Regions from separate parts of the Homo sapiens genome. Here region 1 is linked to region 2. The links are contacts of gene promoters, found by promoter capture Hi-C in blood cells and fetal thymus (Javierre and others, 2016). All regions are on one chromosome and are shown on one strand. Each heading gives the region's core, a stretch centred on a gene start or on the middle of the fragment in contact. The rest is flanking DNA. Distances are from core to core; before and after follow the strand shown. Region 1 overlaps LOC101929650 (a long non-coding RNA gene). Region 2 holds the start of WDR45B (WD repeat domain 45B).

What was found. The method cuts DNA at HindIII sites, captures the fragments that hold promoters and counts their contacts. A CHiCAGO score of 5 or more calls a contact.
Region 1: a contact is called between a fragment that was not itself captured here and the fragment with the promoter of WDR45B in region 2, in 1 of 17 cell types (erythroblasts). The highest score is 5.5, in erythroblasts.

Annotation. Positions count from the first base shown.
Region 1 is chr17:83,179,249-83,183,352 of GRCh38, forward strand. All of the region lies in intron 2 of LOC101929650 (a long non-coding RNA gene), which reads left to right. Among named protein-coding and RNA genes, the nearest start is that of METRNL, 100 kb to the left of the region's middle. The HindIII fragment of the contact is 3,312 bases long and covers 488-3,799 here.
Region 2 is chr17:82,646,568-82,650,890 of GRCh38, forward strand. It overlaps WDR45B (WD repeat domain 45B), which reads right to left and starts at 1,877. Exons shown (of 10, transcript NM_019613.4): 1 at 1,707-1,877. The coding sequence starts at 1,773. RefSeq lists silencers at 1,330-1,379, 1,390-1,439, 2,040-2,109 and enhancers at 1,522-2,021, 2,400-2,469. The HindIII fragment of the contact is 18,003 bases long and covers 1-4,323 here.

The DNA of each region.
Region 1 (4,104 bases), core at 894-3,393, 530 kb after region 2:
AGACCACTTCACATTTCTTTTTATTTACACGGATAAGGATGGATGAGCTTGATGTTCTCCCACCTTCCTCTTGGCGCAGCTTTCTTCTCCTCCCTCTTGGAAGGACTTTCGCTTTTTATTATTATTTTAAACGTTTTAAACAACAATCTCCCAGGCGCCCAACAAAGGCGCTACTGGTGCCAGGTGCTTGGCGCCTGCCTTCCCTGACAACACACGGGCCACATCCTCAGCCCCCCCGGCTGGTGGCCTGTGACTCCCGCCCCAGTGCCAGACTCTTTATTTCATTTTGTTGGCATGGTGGAAAACACTGGCTTTTCAGGAGGTGACCCTGCTTTCAAGAGCCAACCTTTGGAGAAAACAGGACACAGAAGCTGGTTTTGGCTGTGAGGCCCTGACGCACGGATGCAGGTTGCACAGGCCCCATGTCCTCCTCACAGCCTGCCTTTCCAGCTGGCTCAGGAGTCCCTGCGGCTTGAGTTTATCCAGAAGCTTCCCTTTCTCCCGCAAGAGCTACTCGTGGAAGAGACCAGTTTTAAGTGATTTTGCCGCATTTGACCTTTTGGGTATTTCAGTGAAAACAAAACCTCTTCCACAATGCAAAAACTTGGATTCAACAACCATCGATTATTCCCTCTGGGCACCTCACAGAGCTGGGGTGAAGGCCACCTGGGGTTCACGGGACTCACCGTTGGGTGTTGGCATTGAGTCTTGTAGAGCAGGGACTGGCAAAGTCAGAGCACAGGGCCTGGTGTGAATCCCACCTCCTTCCCCGACTGGCCAGGGGACCTGCAGCAAGCGCTCAGCATCTCTGAGCCTTAGTTTCTTCCTCTGCACGGGGAGCTCAGCGGTGGCACCCACTTCATTTCAGTGGTGCCCCCTTAGTCATGGATGATATAAAAATGTTGCCACAAAAGTAACCAAGACAGGTCGGGATGAGATATGCACGACTTCTAAACCCAATTAGGGATTAATTAGGAACATACAATAAATTCCCCCAATTCATAAGAAAAAGACAGGAACTCCGGTGGATGAATGGACAGATGATATTAATAGGCAATTTTCAGAGGAATTTAAAGCAGCAGACAGATCCATCATACCTGCCAGACAGGTGTGCGCTGCCTGGTGTGACCCTGCTGGAGGCAGTGAGGGCAGCAGGGATGGCAGCACCTGGCGGCTAGGACTCGGCCAAGCTGAAGTTCATGCACCCGAGAGCCACAGCCTCTGCCCCAGACAGGGATCAGAAGTAGATTTACACTCCCCTCTGAAAGAACAACAACAGAGAAAACACACAAAGCACATTTTTCAAAACCCTGGGCATCGGTCGCCCGCACTCCGCCACCGTGAGTACACTGCGTGGACCCAGAACCTTGACTCCTCTTGTTTCTGTGAGGCTGGGACTTACGGGTGATGTGCAGAGGGGCCAGAGCTGGTATTTAGAGAGGAAATTTGGGGGCAATTAAAATAGGGGTTCTCGACAAGTCTGGCCTCCCTGAGCCCAGGACCACCATAGAGCTCTGAACAGAGGAATGAGCTGGTCGCCGTGAGAGGCGGCTTTGCCAGAGCTGGGCCAGGGGGAAACAGCCCGTTCAATCAGGACTTGGGGGGTGGGACTGGCTTGGGGTTGGTTGGTGTGAGGCGGGGAGAAGGAGATCCGGAAGAGTCCTCGACGGCTGACATTCACGTCACTGGAGGGGGCCGATTGGAGGGGTCAGCGATGGGCTCAATTTTGTGCCCTCTTGAGTTCGAGGTGTCTGTGGGGCCTCCAGCTACAGACATTTGTGTGTTGGAAAAGCTCTGCAAACCCTGAAACCTGGGGAGGCCCCTGGTCTTGTCTGATGGTTGTAGGTCATGGTGACCTCCACTAGGGCATCTTCACTCCCCTGAGCCACACTGAGACACTGGGTTTGATTGAGACTCTCCAGCCATGATGACAAGGGTTCAGCTCTGGTAAGCCATGTGCAGCCTCCCCCTCAAAGACCAGATGCCACCCACCCAGGGCCCCAAACATCCTGGCCCAGCGGGTCTGCTCACTCCTTGATGAGCTTACCTTCCTCGATCACCCCAACATGCAGAGAGAAACCCTTTGCCCTTCTTGGAGGGAGGGGTCAGATGCTCACTCTGCAGATCCCTGAAGACAAGCAGATGCTCCCTGAGTGGCCTGTCTGAGGGATTCAGCTGGCAGCTGGGTATCCTCATGTGTGCAGTTCCTGAGTGAGCACTGGTGGTGGGGAACAGGCCTGGCTTTCCATGCCTGGGGGGTGCAGGGGGGATGGGCCTGGCTTTCCACGCCTGGGGGATGCAGGGGGGATGGGCCTGGCTTTCCACGCCTGGGGGGTGCAGGGGGGATGGGCCTGGCTTTCCACGCCTGGGGGGTGCAGGGGGGATGGGCCTGGCTTTCCACGCCTGGGGGGTGCAGGGGGGATGGGCCTGGCTTTCCACGCCTGGGGGGTGCAGGGGGGATGGGCCTGGCTTTCCACGCCTGGGGGGTGCAGGGGGGATGGGCCTGGCTTTCCACGCCTGGGGGGTGCAGGGGGGATGGGCCTGGCTTTCCACGCCTGGGGGGTGCAGGGGGGATGGGCCTGGCTTTCCACGCCTGGGGGGTGCAGGGGGGATGGGCCTGGCTTTCCACGCCTGGGGGGTGCAGGGGGGATGGGCCTGGCTTTCCACGCCTGGGGGGTGCAGGGGGGATGGGCCTGGCTTTCCACGCCTGGGGGGGTGCAGGGGGGATGGGCCTGGCTTTCCACACCCGGGGGGTACAGCGGGGATGGGCCTGTATTCCACACCTGGGGGTGTATGTCCACCACCCAGATGCCACCTCTGTGTCATTCCTGGAGGGCATTCGGGCATCACCTGAGGGTGGGGAGCAGTGCCCTGACCCACATGACCCCCAGCAGAAGCTGCCACTGTCGGCCCTGGGCTCCGGGTGTCAGCGTGGCGCTCTGGGCTTTTCCCACACTGGGGGGCCATTTCAGGATGTGGATCCCTCCAGGAAGGGCTTGCTGAGTGGCTGCTGTTTGCTGGGATGGGTGAGGGGTAGACAACAGGCACTCAGGAGCCATGGTTGGGACAGAACTTATGTTTGTCAGCCACCTTGGAGGGGCGACCTGGAGAGCTCGGACAACCTTGCAGCACCCACCAGAGAGCTTAGCACCAGGACCCAGCGGAGCTCTCCCACGTGCACACAGACTCACTGCTCGTGTGTGAGAAGGGGAATAAGTGTGACTGAGCCTTCTGGAAGTTAGGGCCTAGCACAGAGGGTCCCAGATGGCCCGGAGAACCAGGTCCTGTGCAGCTATCCAGAGAAGGTCCAGTCACCAGAGACAGACAGCTGGAGTGCCAGGGCCCTGGAGGTATCAATTGCCTTTGTTTTACATGAAGACATTGAACTTCCACAGGAGGGCAAACGCCCTGGCTAAAGTAACTGGCGGGGCAGCGTCAGGAACTCACAAGCCCCTGTGGTCCGTGCAGGCTGCCGTCGATTTGATGAGCACAGCAGGTCCAGGCAGAGAGACGCTCACCTCCAGCTGCGGTTGGGGTATGTCTGGGAGGCCTGTGGGGTGGCTTTGCTCCTCCACCTTGGGCCAGGGTAGCCTGTGGCAAAGACAGTCTCACAGTGTGTAGTCTCCTTGAGGTCTGGGCCTGTCCGCAGACAGGAAATAATGAGACCGGCTCAGGACAGGGCCGGGCTGGCCTCTGTGTTTTGTGAAAGTTCGAGTTTCTACACCCTCTGAGAAGATGCTGGGCCCTGAGGGAGGGTGTGGACCAGAAGGAAGTCACGGGGTGAGTGGAGGGGGAGGGAAGCTTATGTGCCATTTTAAGAAGACGACAGCAAAAACAGGAAAATCCTATTTATCTGAATCCTATGTGATTCCACTTGAATTTTCAATAATTTAGACAAAAGTAAATTGGCGTTTACTTTTGCATTAGCCATAAGGAGCAGAAGGAGAAATTTGCTCCCTAGAATATGAGTGTTGACGTGTTGCTGACATCAAAACAGAATTTAAACTTTGAGGAAAGAGAGATGCCAGTGCTGCCACAAAGGCACCGACGCCCGAGACAGCAGGGCTCGTGTTTCTTCACGCAGACCATCTGTGCCGCCGTTGG
Region 2 (4,323 bases), core at 627-3,126:
GTAGGCAAAACTAATCTATGATGTCACAAGTCAGGTAGGGAGCATTTATTGGAATCAAGCGTGGCCAGGTATATTCAATTTCTTAATTGTTAGTGACAGGTGTGTAGTTTGGAAAATTCATCACCTGAACACTTATGATATATCCACCCTTCTACAGGTATAGCACACTTCACTAAAAAGAAGGCATTACAAACACCAGATGGTTGGAAACCACCCTCTGAGAAGGCTAGGCATCTCCCTTACCATCTCAGCAAAACTTTCTTCCGGAGAAACCCCAGCACACAACCCTGGGGAAGCTGGCAGCGCCCAGGAAGCCTGACTGGTCCCAGGGCATCAGGCATCAAAATCACTGAGAGGGAGTTCTTTCAAATATGTGTAATCCGGCCGGGCGCAGTGGCTCACGCCTGTAATCCCAGCACTTTGGGAGGCCGAGGCGGGTGGATCACCTGAGGTCAGATTGAGACCAGCCTGGCCAACATGGTGAAACCCCGTCTCTACTAAAAATACAAAAAGTAGCCGGGCGTGGAGGCAGGCGCCTGTAATCCCAGCTACTCAGGAGCCTGAGGCAGGAGAATGGCGTGAACCCGGGAGGAGGAGGTTGCAGTGAGTCGAGATCGCACCAGGCTGGGCGACAGAATGAGACTCCGTCTCAAAATGAAATAAATAAATAAATAAAATTGTCTTCACATATACGGGATCATACAGCACCTGCCTGGATTCTCTTCAAAAACAAAACTTCCAAAGCCAACATGTAAAGCCTCGCAGAAGCCTGTCTCGGAATAACGGACATTCCTTTTCCTCCCCATCAGGACCTTTGGGAAGCGCGCCCTTCAAATGGGAGGTGAGGAGGCAACCATCCGAATCCAGGTCCCGCCCGCCTCCCGCGGGAATCCGACCGCGCCGCCCCGGCCGCATCCCCCGCAGCTCCGAAGCACCTGCGGGGAAGGAGGTCACCTTCCCTGGGCGCTTTAAATCATCCAGTGCTTACACCTGGATTCCGACATGGGAAAAGAAGTAAGATTTCCCTCAAAGGCCTCCCTTAAGTCCTTTGACTCCACCAAACACGAAGAAAAATCCCGGGGAGTGGGGGTGGGGAGAGTGACATTTTCCGATGGAAACCGACGGGAAAGGTGAGACCTGCACCCCACCCGCGCCACTCGCCACCAGAGGCGTCGGAGACGCCGGCTCCGCGGCTCCAGTAAACCCAAGCGAAGTCAGCTCAGCCACGGGCTACCTACTAAAGACCCTGAAAGGAACAGGGGGCAAAACGGGGTTCTGGGCAGGGCGTCAATCACGCTGTGGGGAAAATCCCGATAACCGTGGAGCCCGCAGGGAGCCAGGGAACCCGAGTGGGCGTGGCGCGCGGGGAGGGGCGTCCGCGCAGGAGGCTGGGGTTCTGTGCCGTCTCCCACCGACCTCGACCTCGGCCCGGGACGGCCGGCTGGGAGCGGTCACAACCCGGGGGGTGGGGGAGCGCGAAAGGCCAGGAAGGTGGGAGCCGGTTCGGGCCTGGTCCGGACCCCGGCTCGGGCTGGGAGCAGCGGCGAGGGCCGGGGCCGGGGGCTTCGGAGGGGAGCTCGGGCGGGGCCGGGGTCCCGGGTGGAAGGCCTGGCCGGAAAGGGGCGCCCAGGAGAGGCCTGAGAGCCGGGGACCCCGGGCTGCGGGAAGGCCCGGCCGGGCAAGGCGACAGGGCCGCGCCTCCTCACCGTGGTCCTGGTTGAAGCCGGCGTAGAGCAGCCCGTTGCCGTGAGGGTTACACGGCAGGAGGTTCATGGCGCCGCCGTGCTGGGTCGCCGCTCCTCAGCGCTGCATGCCTCTCGCTGGGGACGGCGGCCTGGTCCCTTCGGGCCGGCGCTGAGGCCGCCGCGGCCGGAAGTGCCGGACGTACGTGCGTGCGTGCTGGATGTGCGTGTGTGCTGGACGTGCGTGCGTGCGTGCTGGACGTCCGTGCGCGCGCCCGCGCCCCACCAGGGAGCCTATGGAGCGCCGAGCGCATCTAACCGAAGCGAGGCGAGACGAGGCGAGGCAGGGCGGGGAGGGGCGGGGCGGGGCGAGGCGAGGCGAGGCGAGGAAAGGCGGGGAGAGGCAGGGCGGGCGGGGCGGGATGAGGCGGGGAGAGGCAGGGCGGGCGGGGCGGGATGAGGCGGGGAGAGGCGGAGCGAGGCGGGGCGGGGAGGAGGGGGCGGGGCGGGGCGGGGCGAGGCGAGGAAAGGCGGGGAGAGGCAGGGCGGGCGGGGCGGGGCGGAGGCGGGGAGGGGCGGAGCGAGGCGGGGCGGGGAGGAGGGGGAGGGGCGGGGCGGGGAGGGGCCAGGCGGGAGCGCAGAGCACGTTCGCGGGAGGGTCTGGCCTTGTCATGCGCGGGGTCGCCGCGGGAAGGAGGATGGCCCGTTGAGGGCTTGGCACGGATACCTGACGGTCGGAGGAAGGGGGGAGAGCCGGTAAAGGAGGCTGACCCAAAACTGAGGCCCGGTGCATCATCCCTCATGAGAGGCAAGCCCAGAAGCGCCACAATACTAGGGTCCCCCTTCAGGAGACAGAGACCCCCAGGACACAGAGGGCCCCCAAGTCACTCAGCCCCCCCAGGACACGCAGCTCCTGCAGGACGCAGAGGGTGCCCAAGACACACAGTCCCCAGGACAGAGACCCCCCAGGACACAGAGGACCCCCAAGACACGCAGTCTCCAGGACACAGAGGTCCCCCCAGGACACACAGTGCCCCCAGGACACAGAGGTCCCCCAGGACACAGCACTCCCAGGACACACAGCCCCCCCGGGACACAGAAACCCCCCCAGGACACAGCCCCCCTAAGACACACAGCCTCCCCCAGTACACAGAGTCCTTTCCAGGGCACATATTCCCCCAGAAGACACAGAGGTCCCCCTAAGACACACAGCCCCCCCAGGACACACAGACCGCCAGGTCACAGAGACCTTCCCAGGACACAGGGACCTTCCCAGGACACATAGCCCCCCAGAGGACACACAGCCCCCCCACGACACAGCCCATAGAGGACACAACCCCTTAGTACCCCACCTAAAGGACAGGTGGCCCTCACACAGCACAGCCCCCGCAGGACTCCGGGACCCTCAGGTCACATTGCTCACAGGGCACAGTTCTCAACTCTTAGGGTCAGGCTGCTGGGGGCATCCTGGTCACAGAGCTTTGTCCCTGGGCTTGGCTCATGCAGTGGATGGCTGTGGAGGCCTGAGTGCTGGCCCTCGTGTCTCTTGCCCAGGGAGTCCTCTCCACTCCCCCTCCTCACTTTCCTGTCCCCTCCTAGGCTCTCCCTGTTCCCTGCAGCACACCTGATCTCCTAGGAGGTCCTGACACTGTCCCCTCGCAGCCACCTGCCTCCACCCCGTCTGTCATCCTCATCCCACCCTCGCCACTTGCCTGAGCTGGTGCTGACCTCTTAGCCATGGGGAGGAAGGAGCTGGACTGTAAGCTGAGATCACTGGCCCACTCGGGCCAGGCGGTCTCCGCATCGTGGGCATTGAACACCTCGATTCCCATACGAGAGGGGCTCCTCCCTGAGAGCGACCAGAAGCCTTCCGATGGCGGAGCGAGTTGGGCCGCCCCGGCTGTGACTAGGGCTCGGGGGCCCAGGTCCAAATCACAGAGCTGGGGCGAGACCTAAGTGCGGTCCAGGGGCTCAGCACCCTCTTCCCTGAAGGGCACTGGGTTCTCCTCTGTGCACACGTACCGGTACCTGCTGTGAGAAGTGTCACGTGGGGGAAGGAGAGAGGCGTGGGTAAGGGACATTTCCCTTCATTTCTCTGCTTGCCACCCTTGGGGCCTCCTTCAGTTCACATTTTACTCAGTCTCCCGGTGGCTGTACAGCCGGGGGCGGGGGCATGTGTGGACATCCACACACAGCGCTGGTTGTATCCTAACCAGGAAACTCAAAGCAGCCTTGCCCACCACAGTGCGTTGAATGGTGACCCTCTAAAGATGTGTCCTGGGGGGCTGAGGAGGGAGGATGGCTTGAGCCCAGGAGATTGAGGCTGAGGCTGCACTGAACTGAGATTGTGCCACTACACTCCAGCCTGGGCAACACAGCAAGACTCTGTCGCAAAAAAAAAAAAAAAAAAAGATAGGTCCACCCAGAACCTGAGAATAGGGGCTTCTTTAGGTAAAGAATCATTGCAGAAGTAATTAAGGATCTCGAGATAAGATCATCCTGGATTTGGGGTGGGCCTTAAAGCTGGTGACCGGCACCCTTGGAGGAGACAGGAATGGAGGAGATACAGGGGACAGCAGCCAGTGGGACTGGAGTGCTCAGCCCTAAGTCAGCAAGTGCAGGAATCGTGGGGTCACCAGGA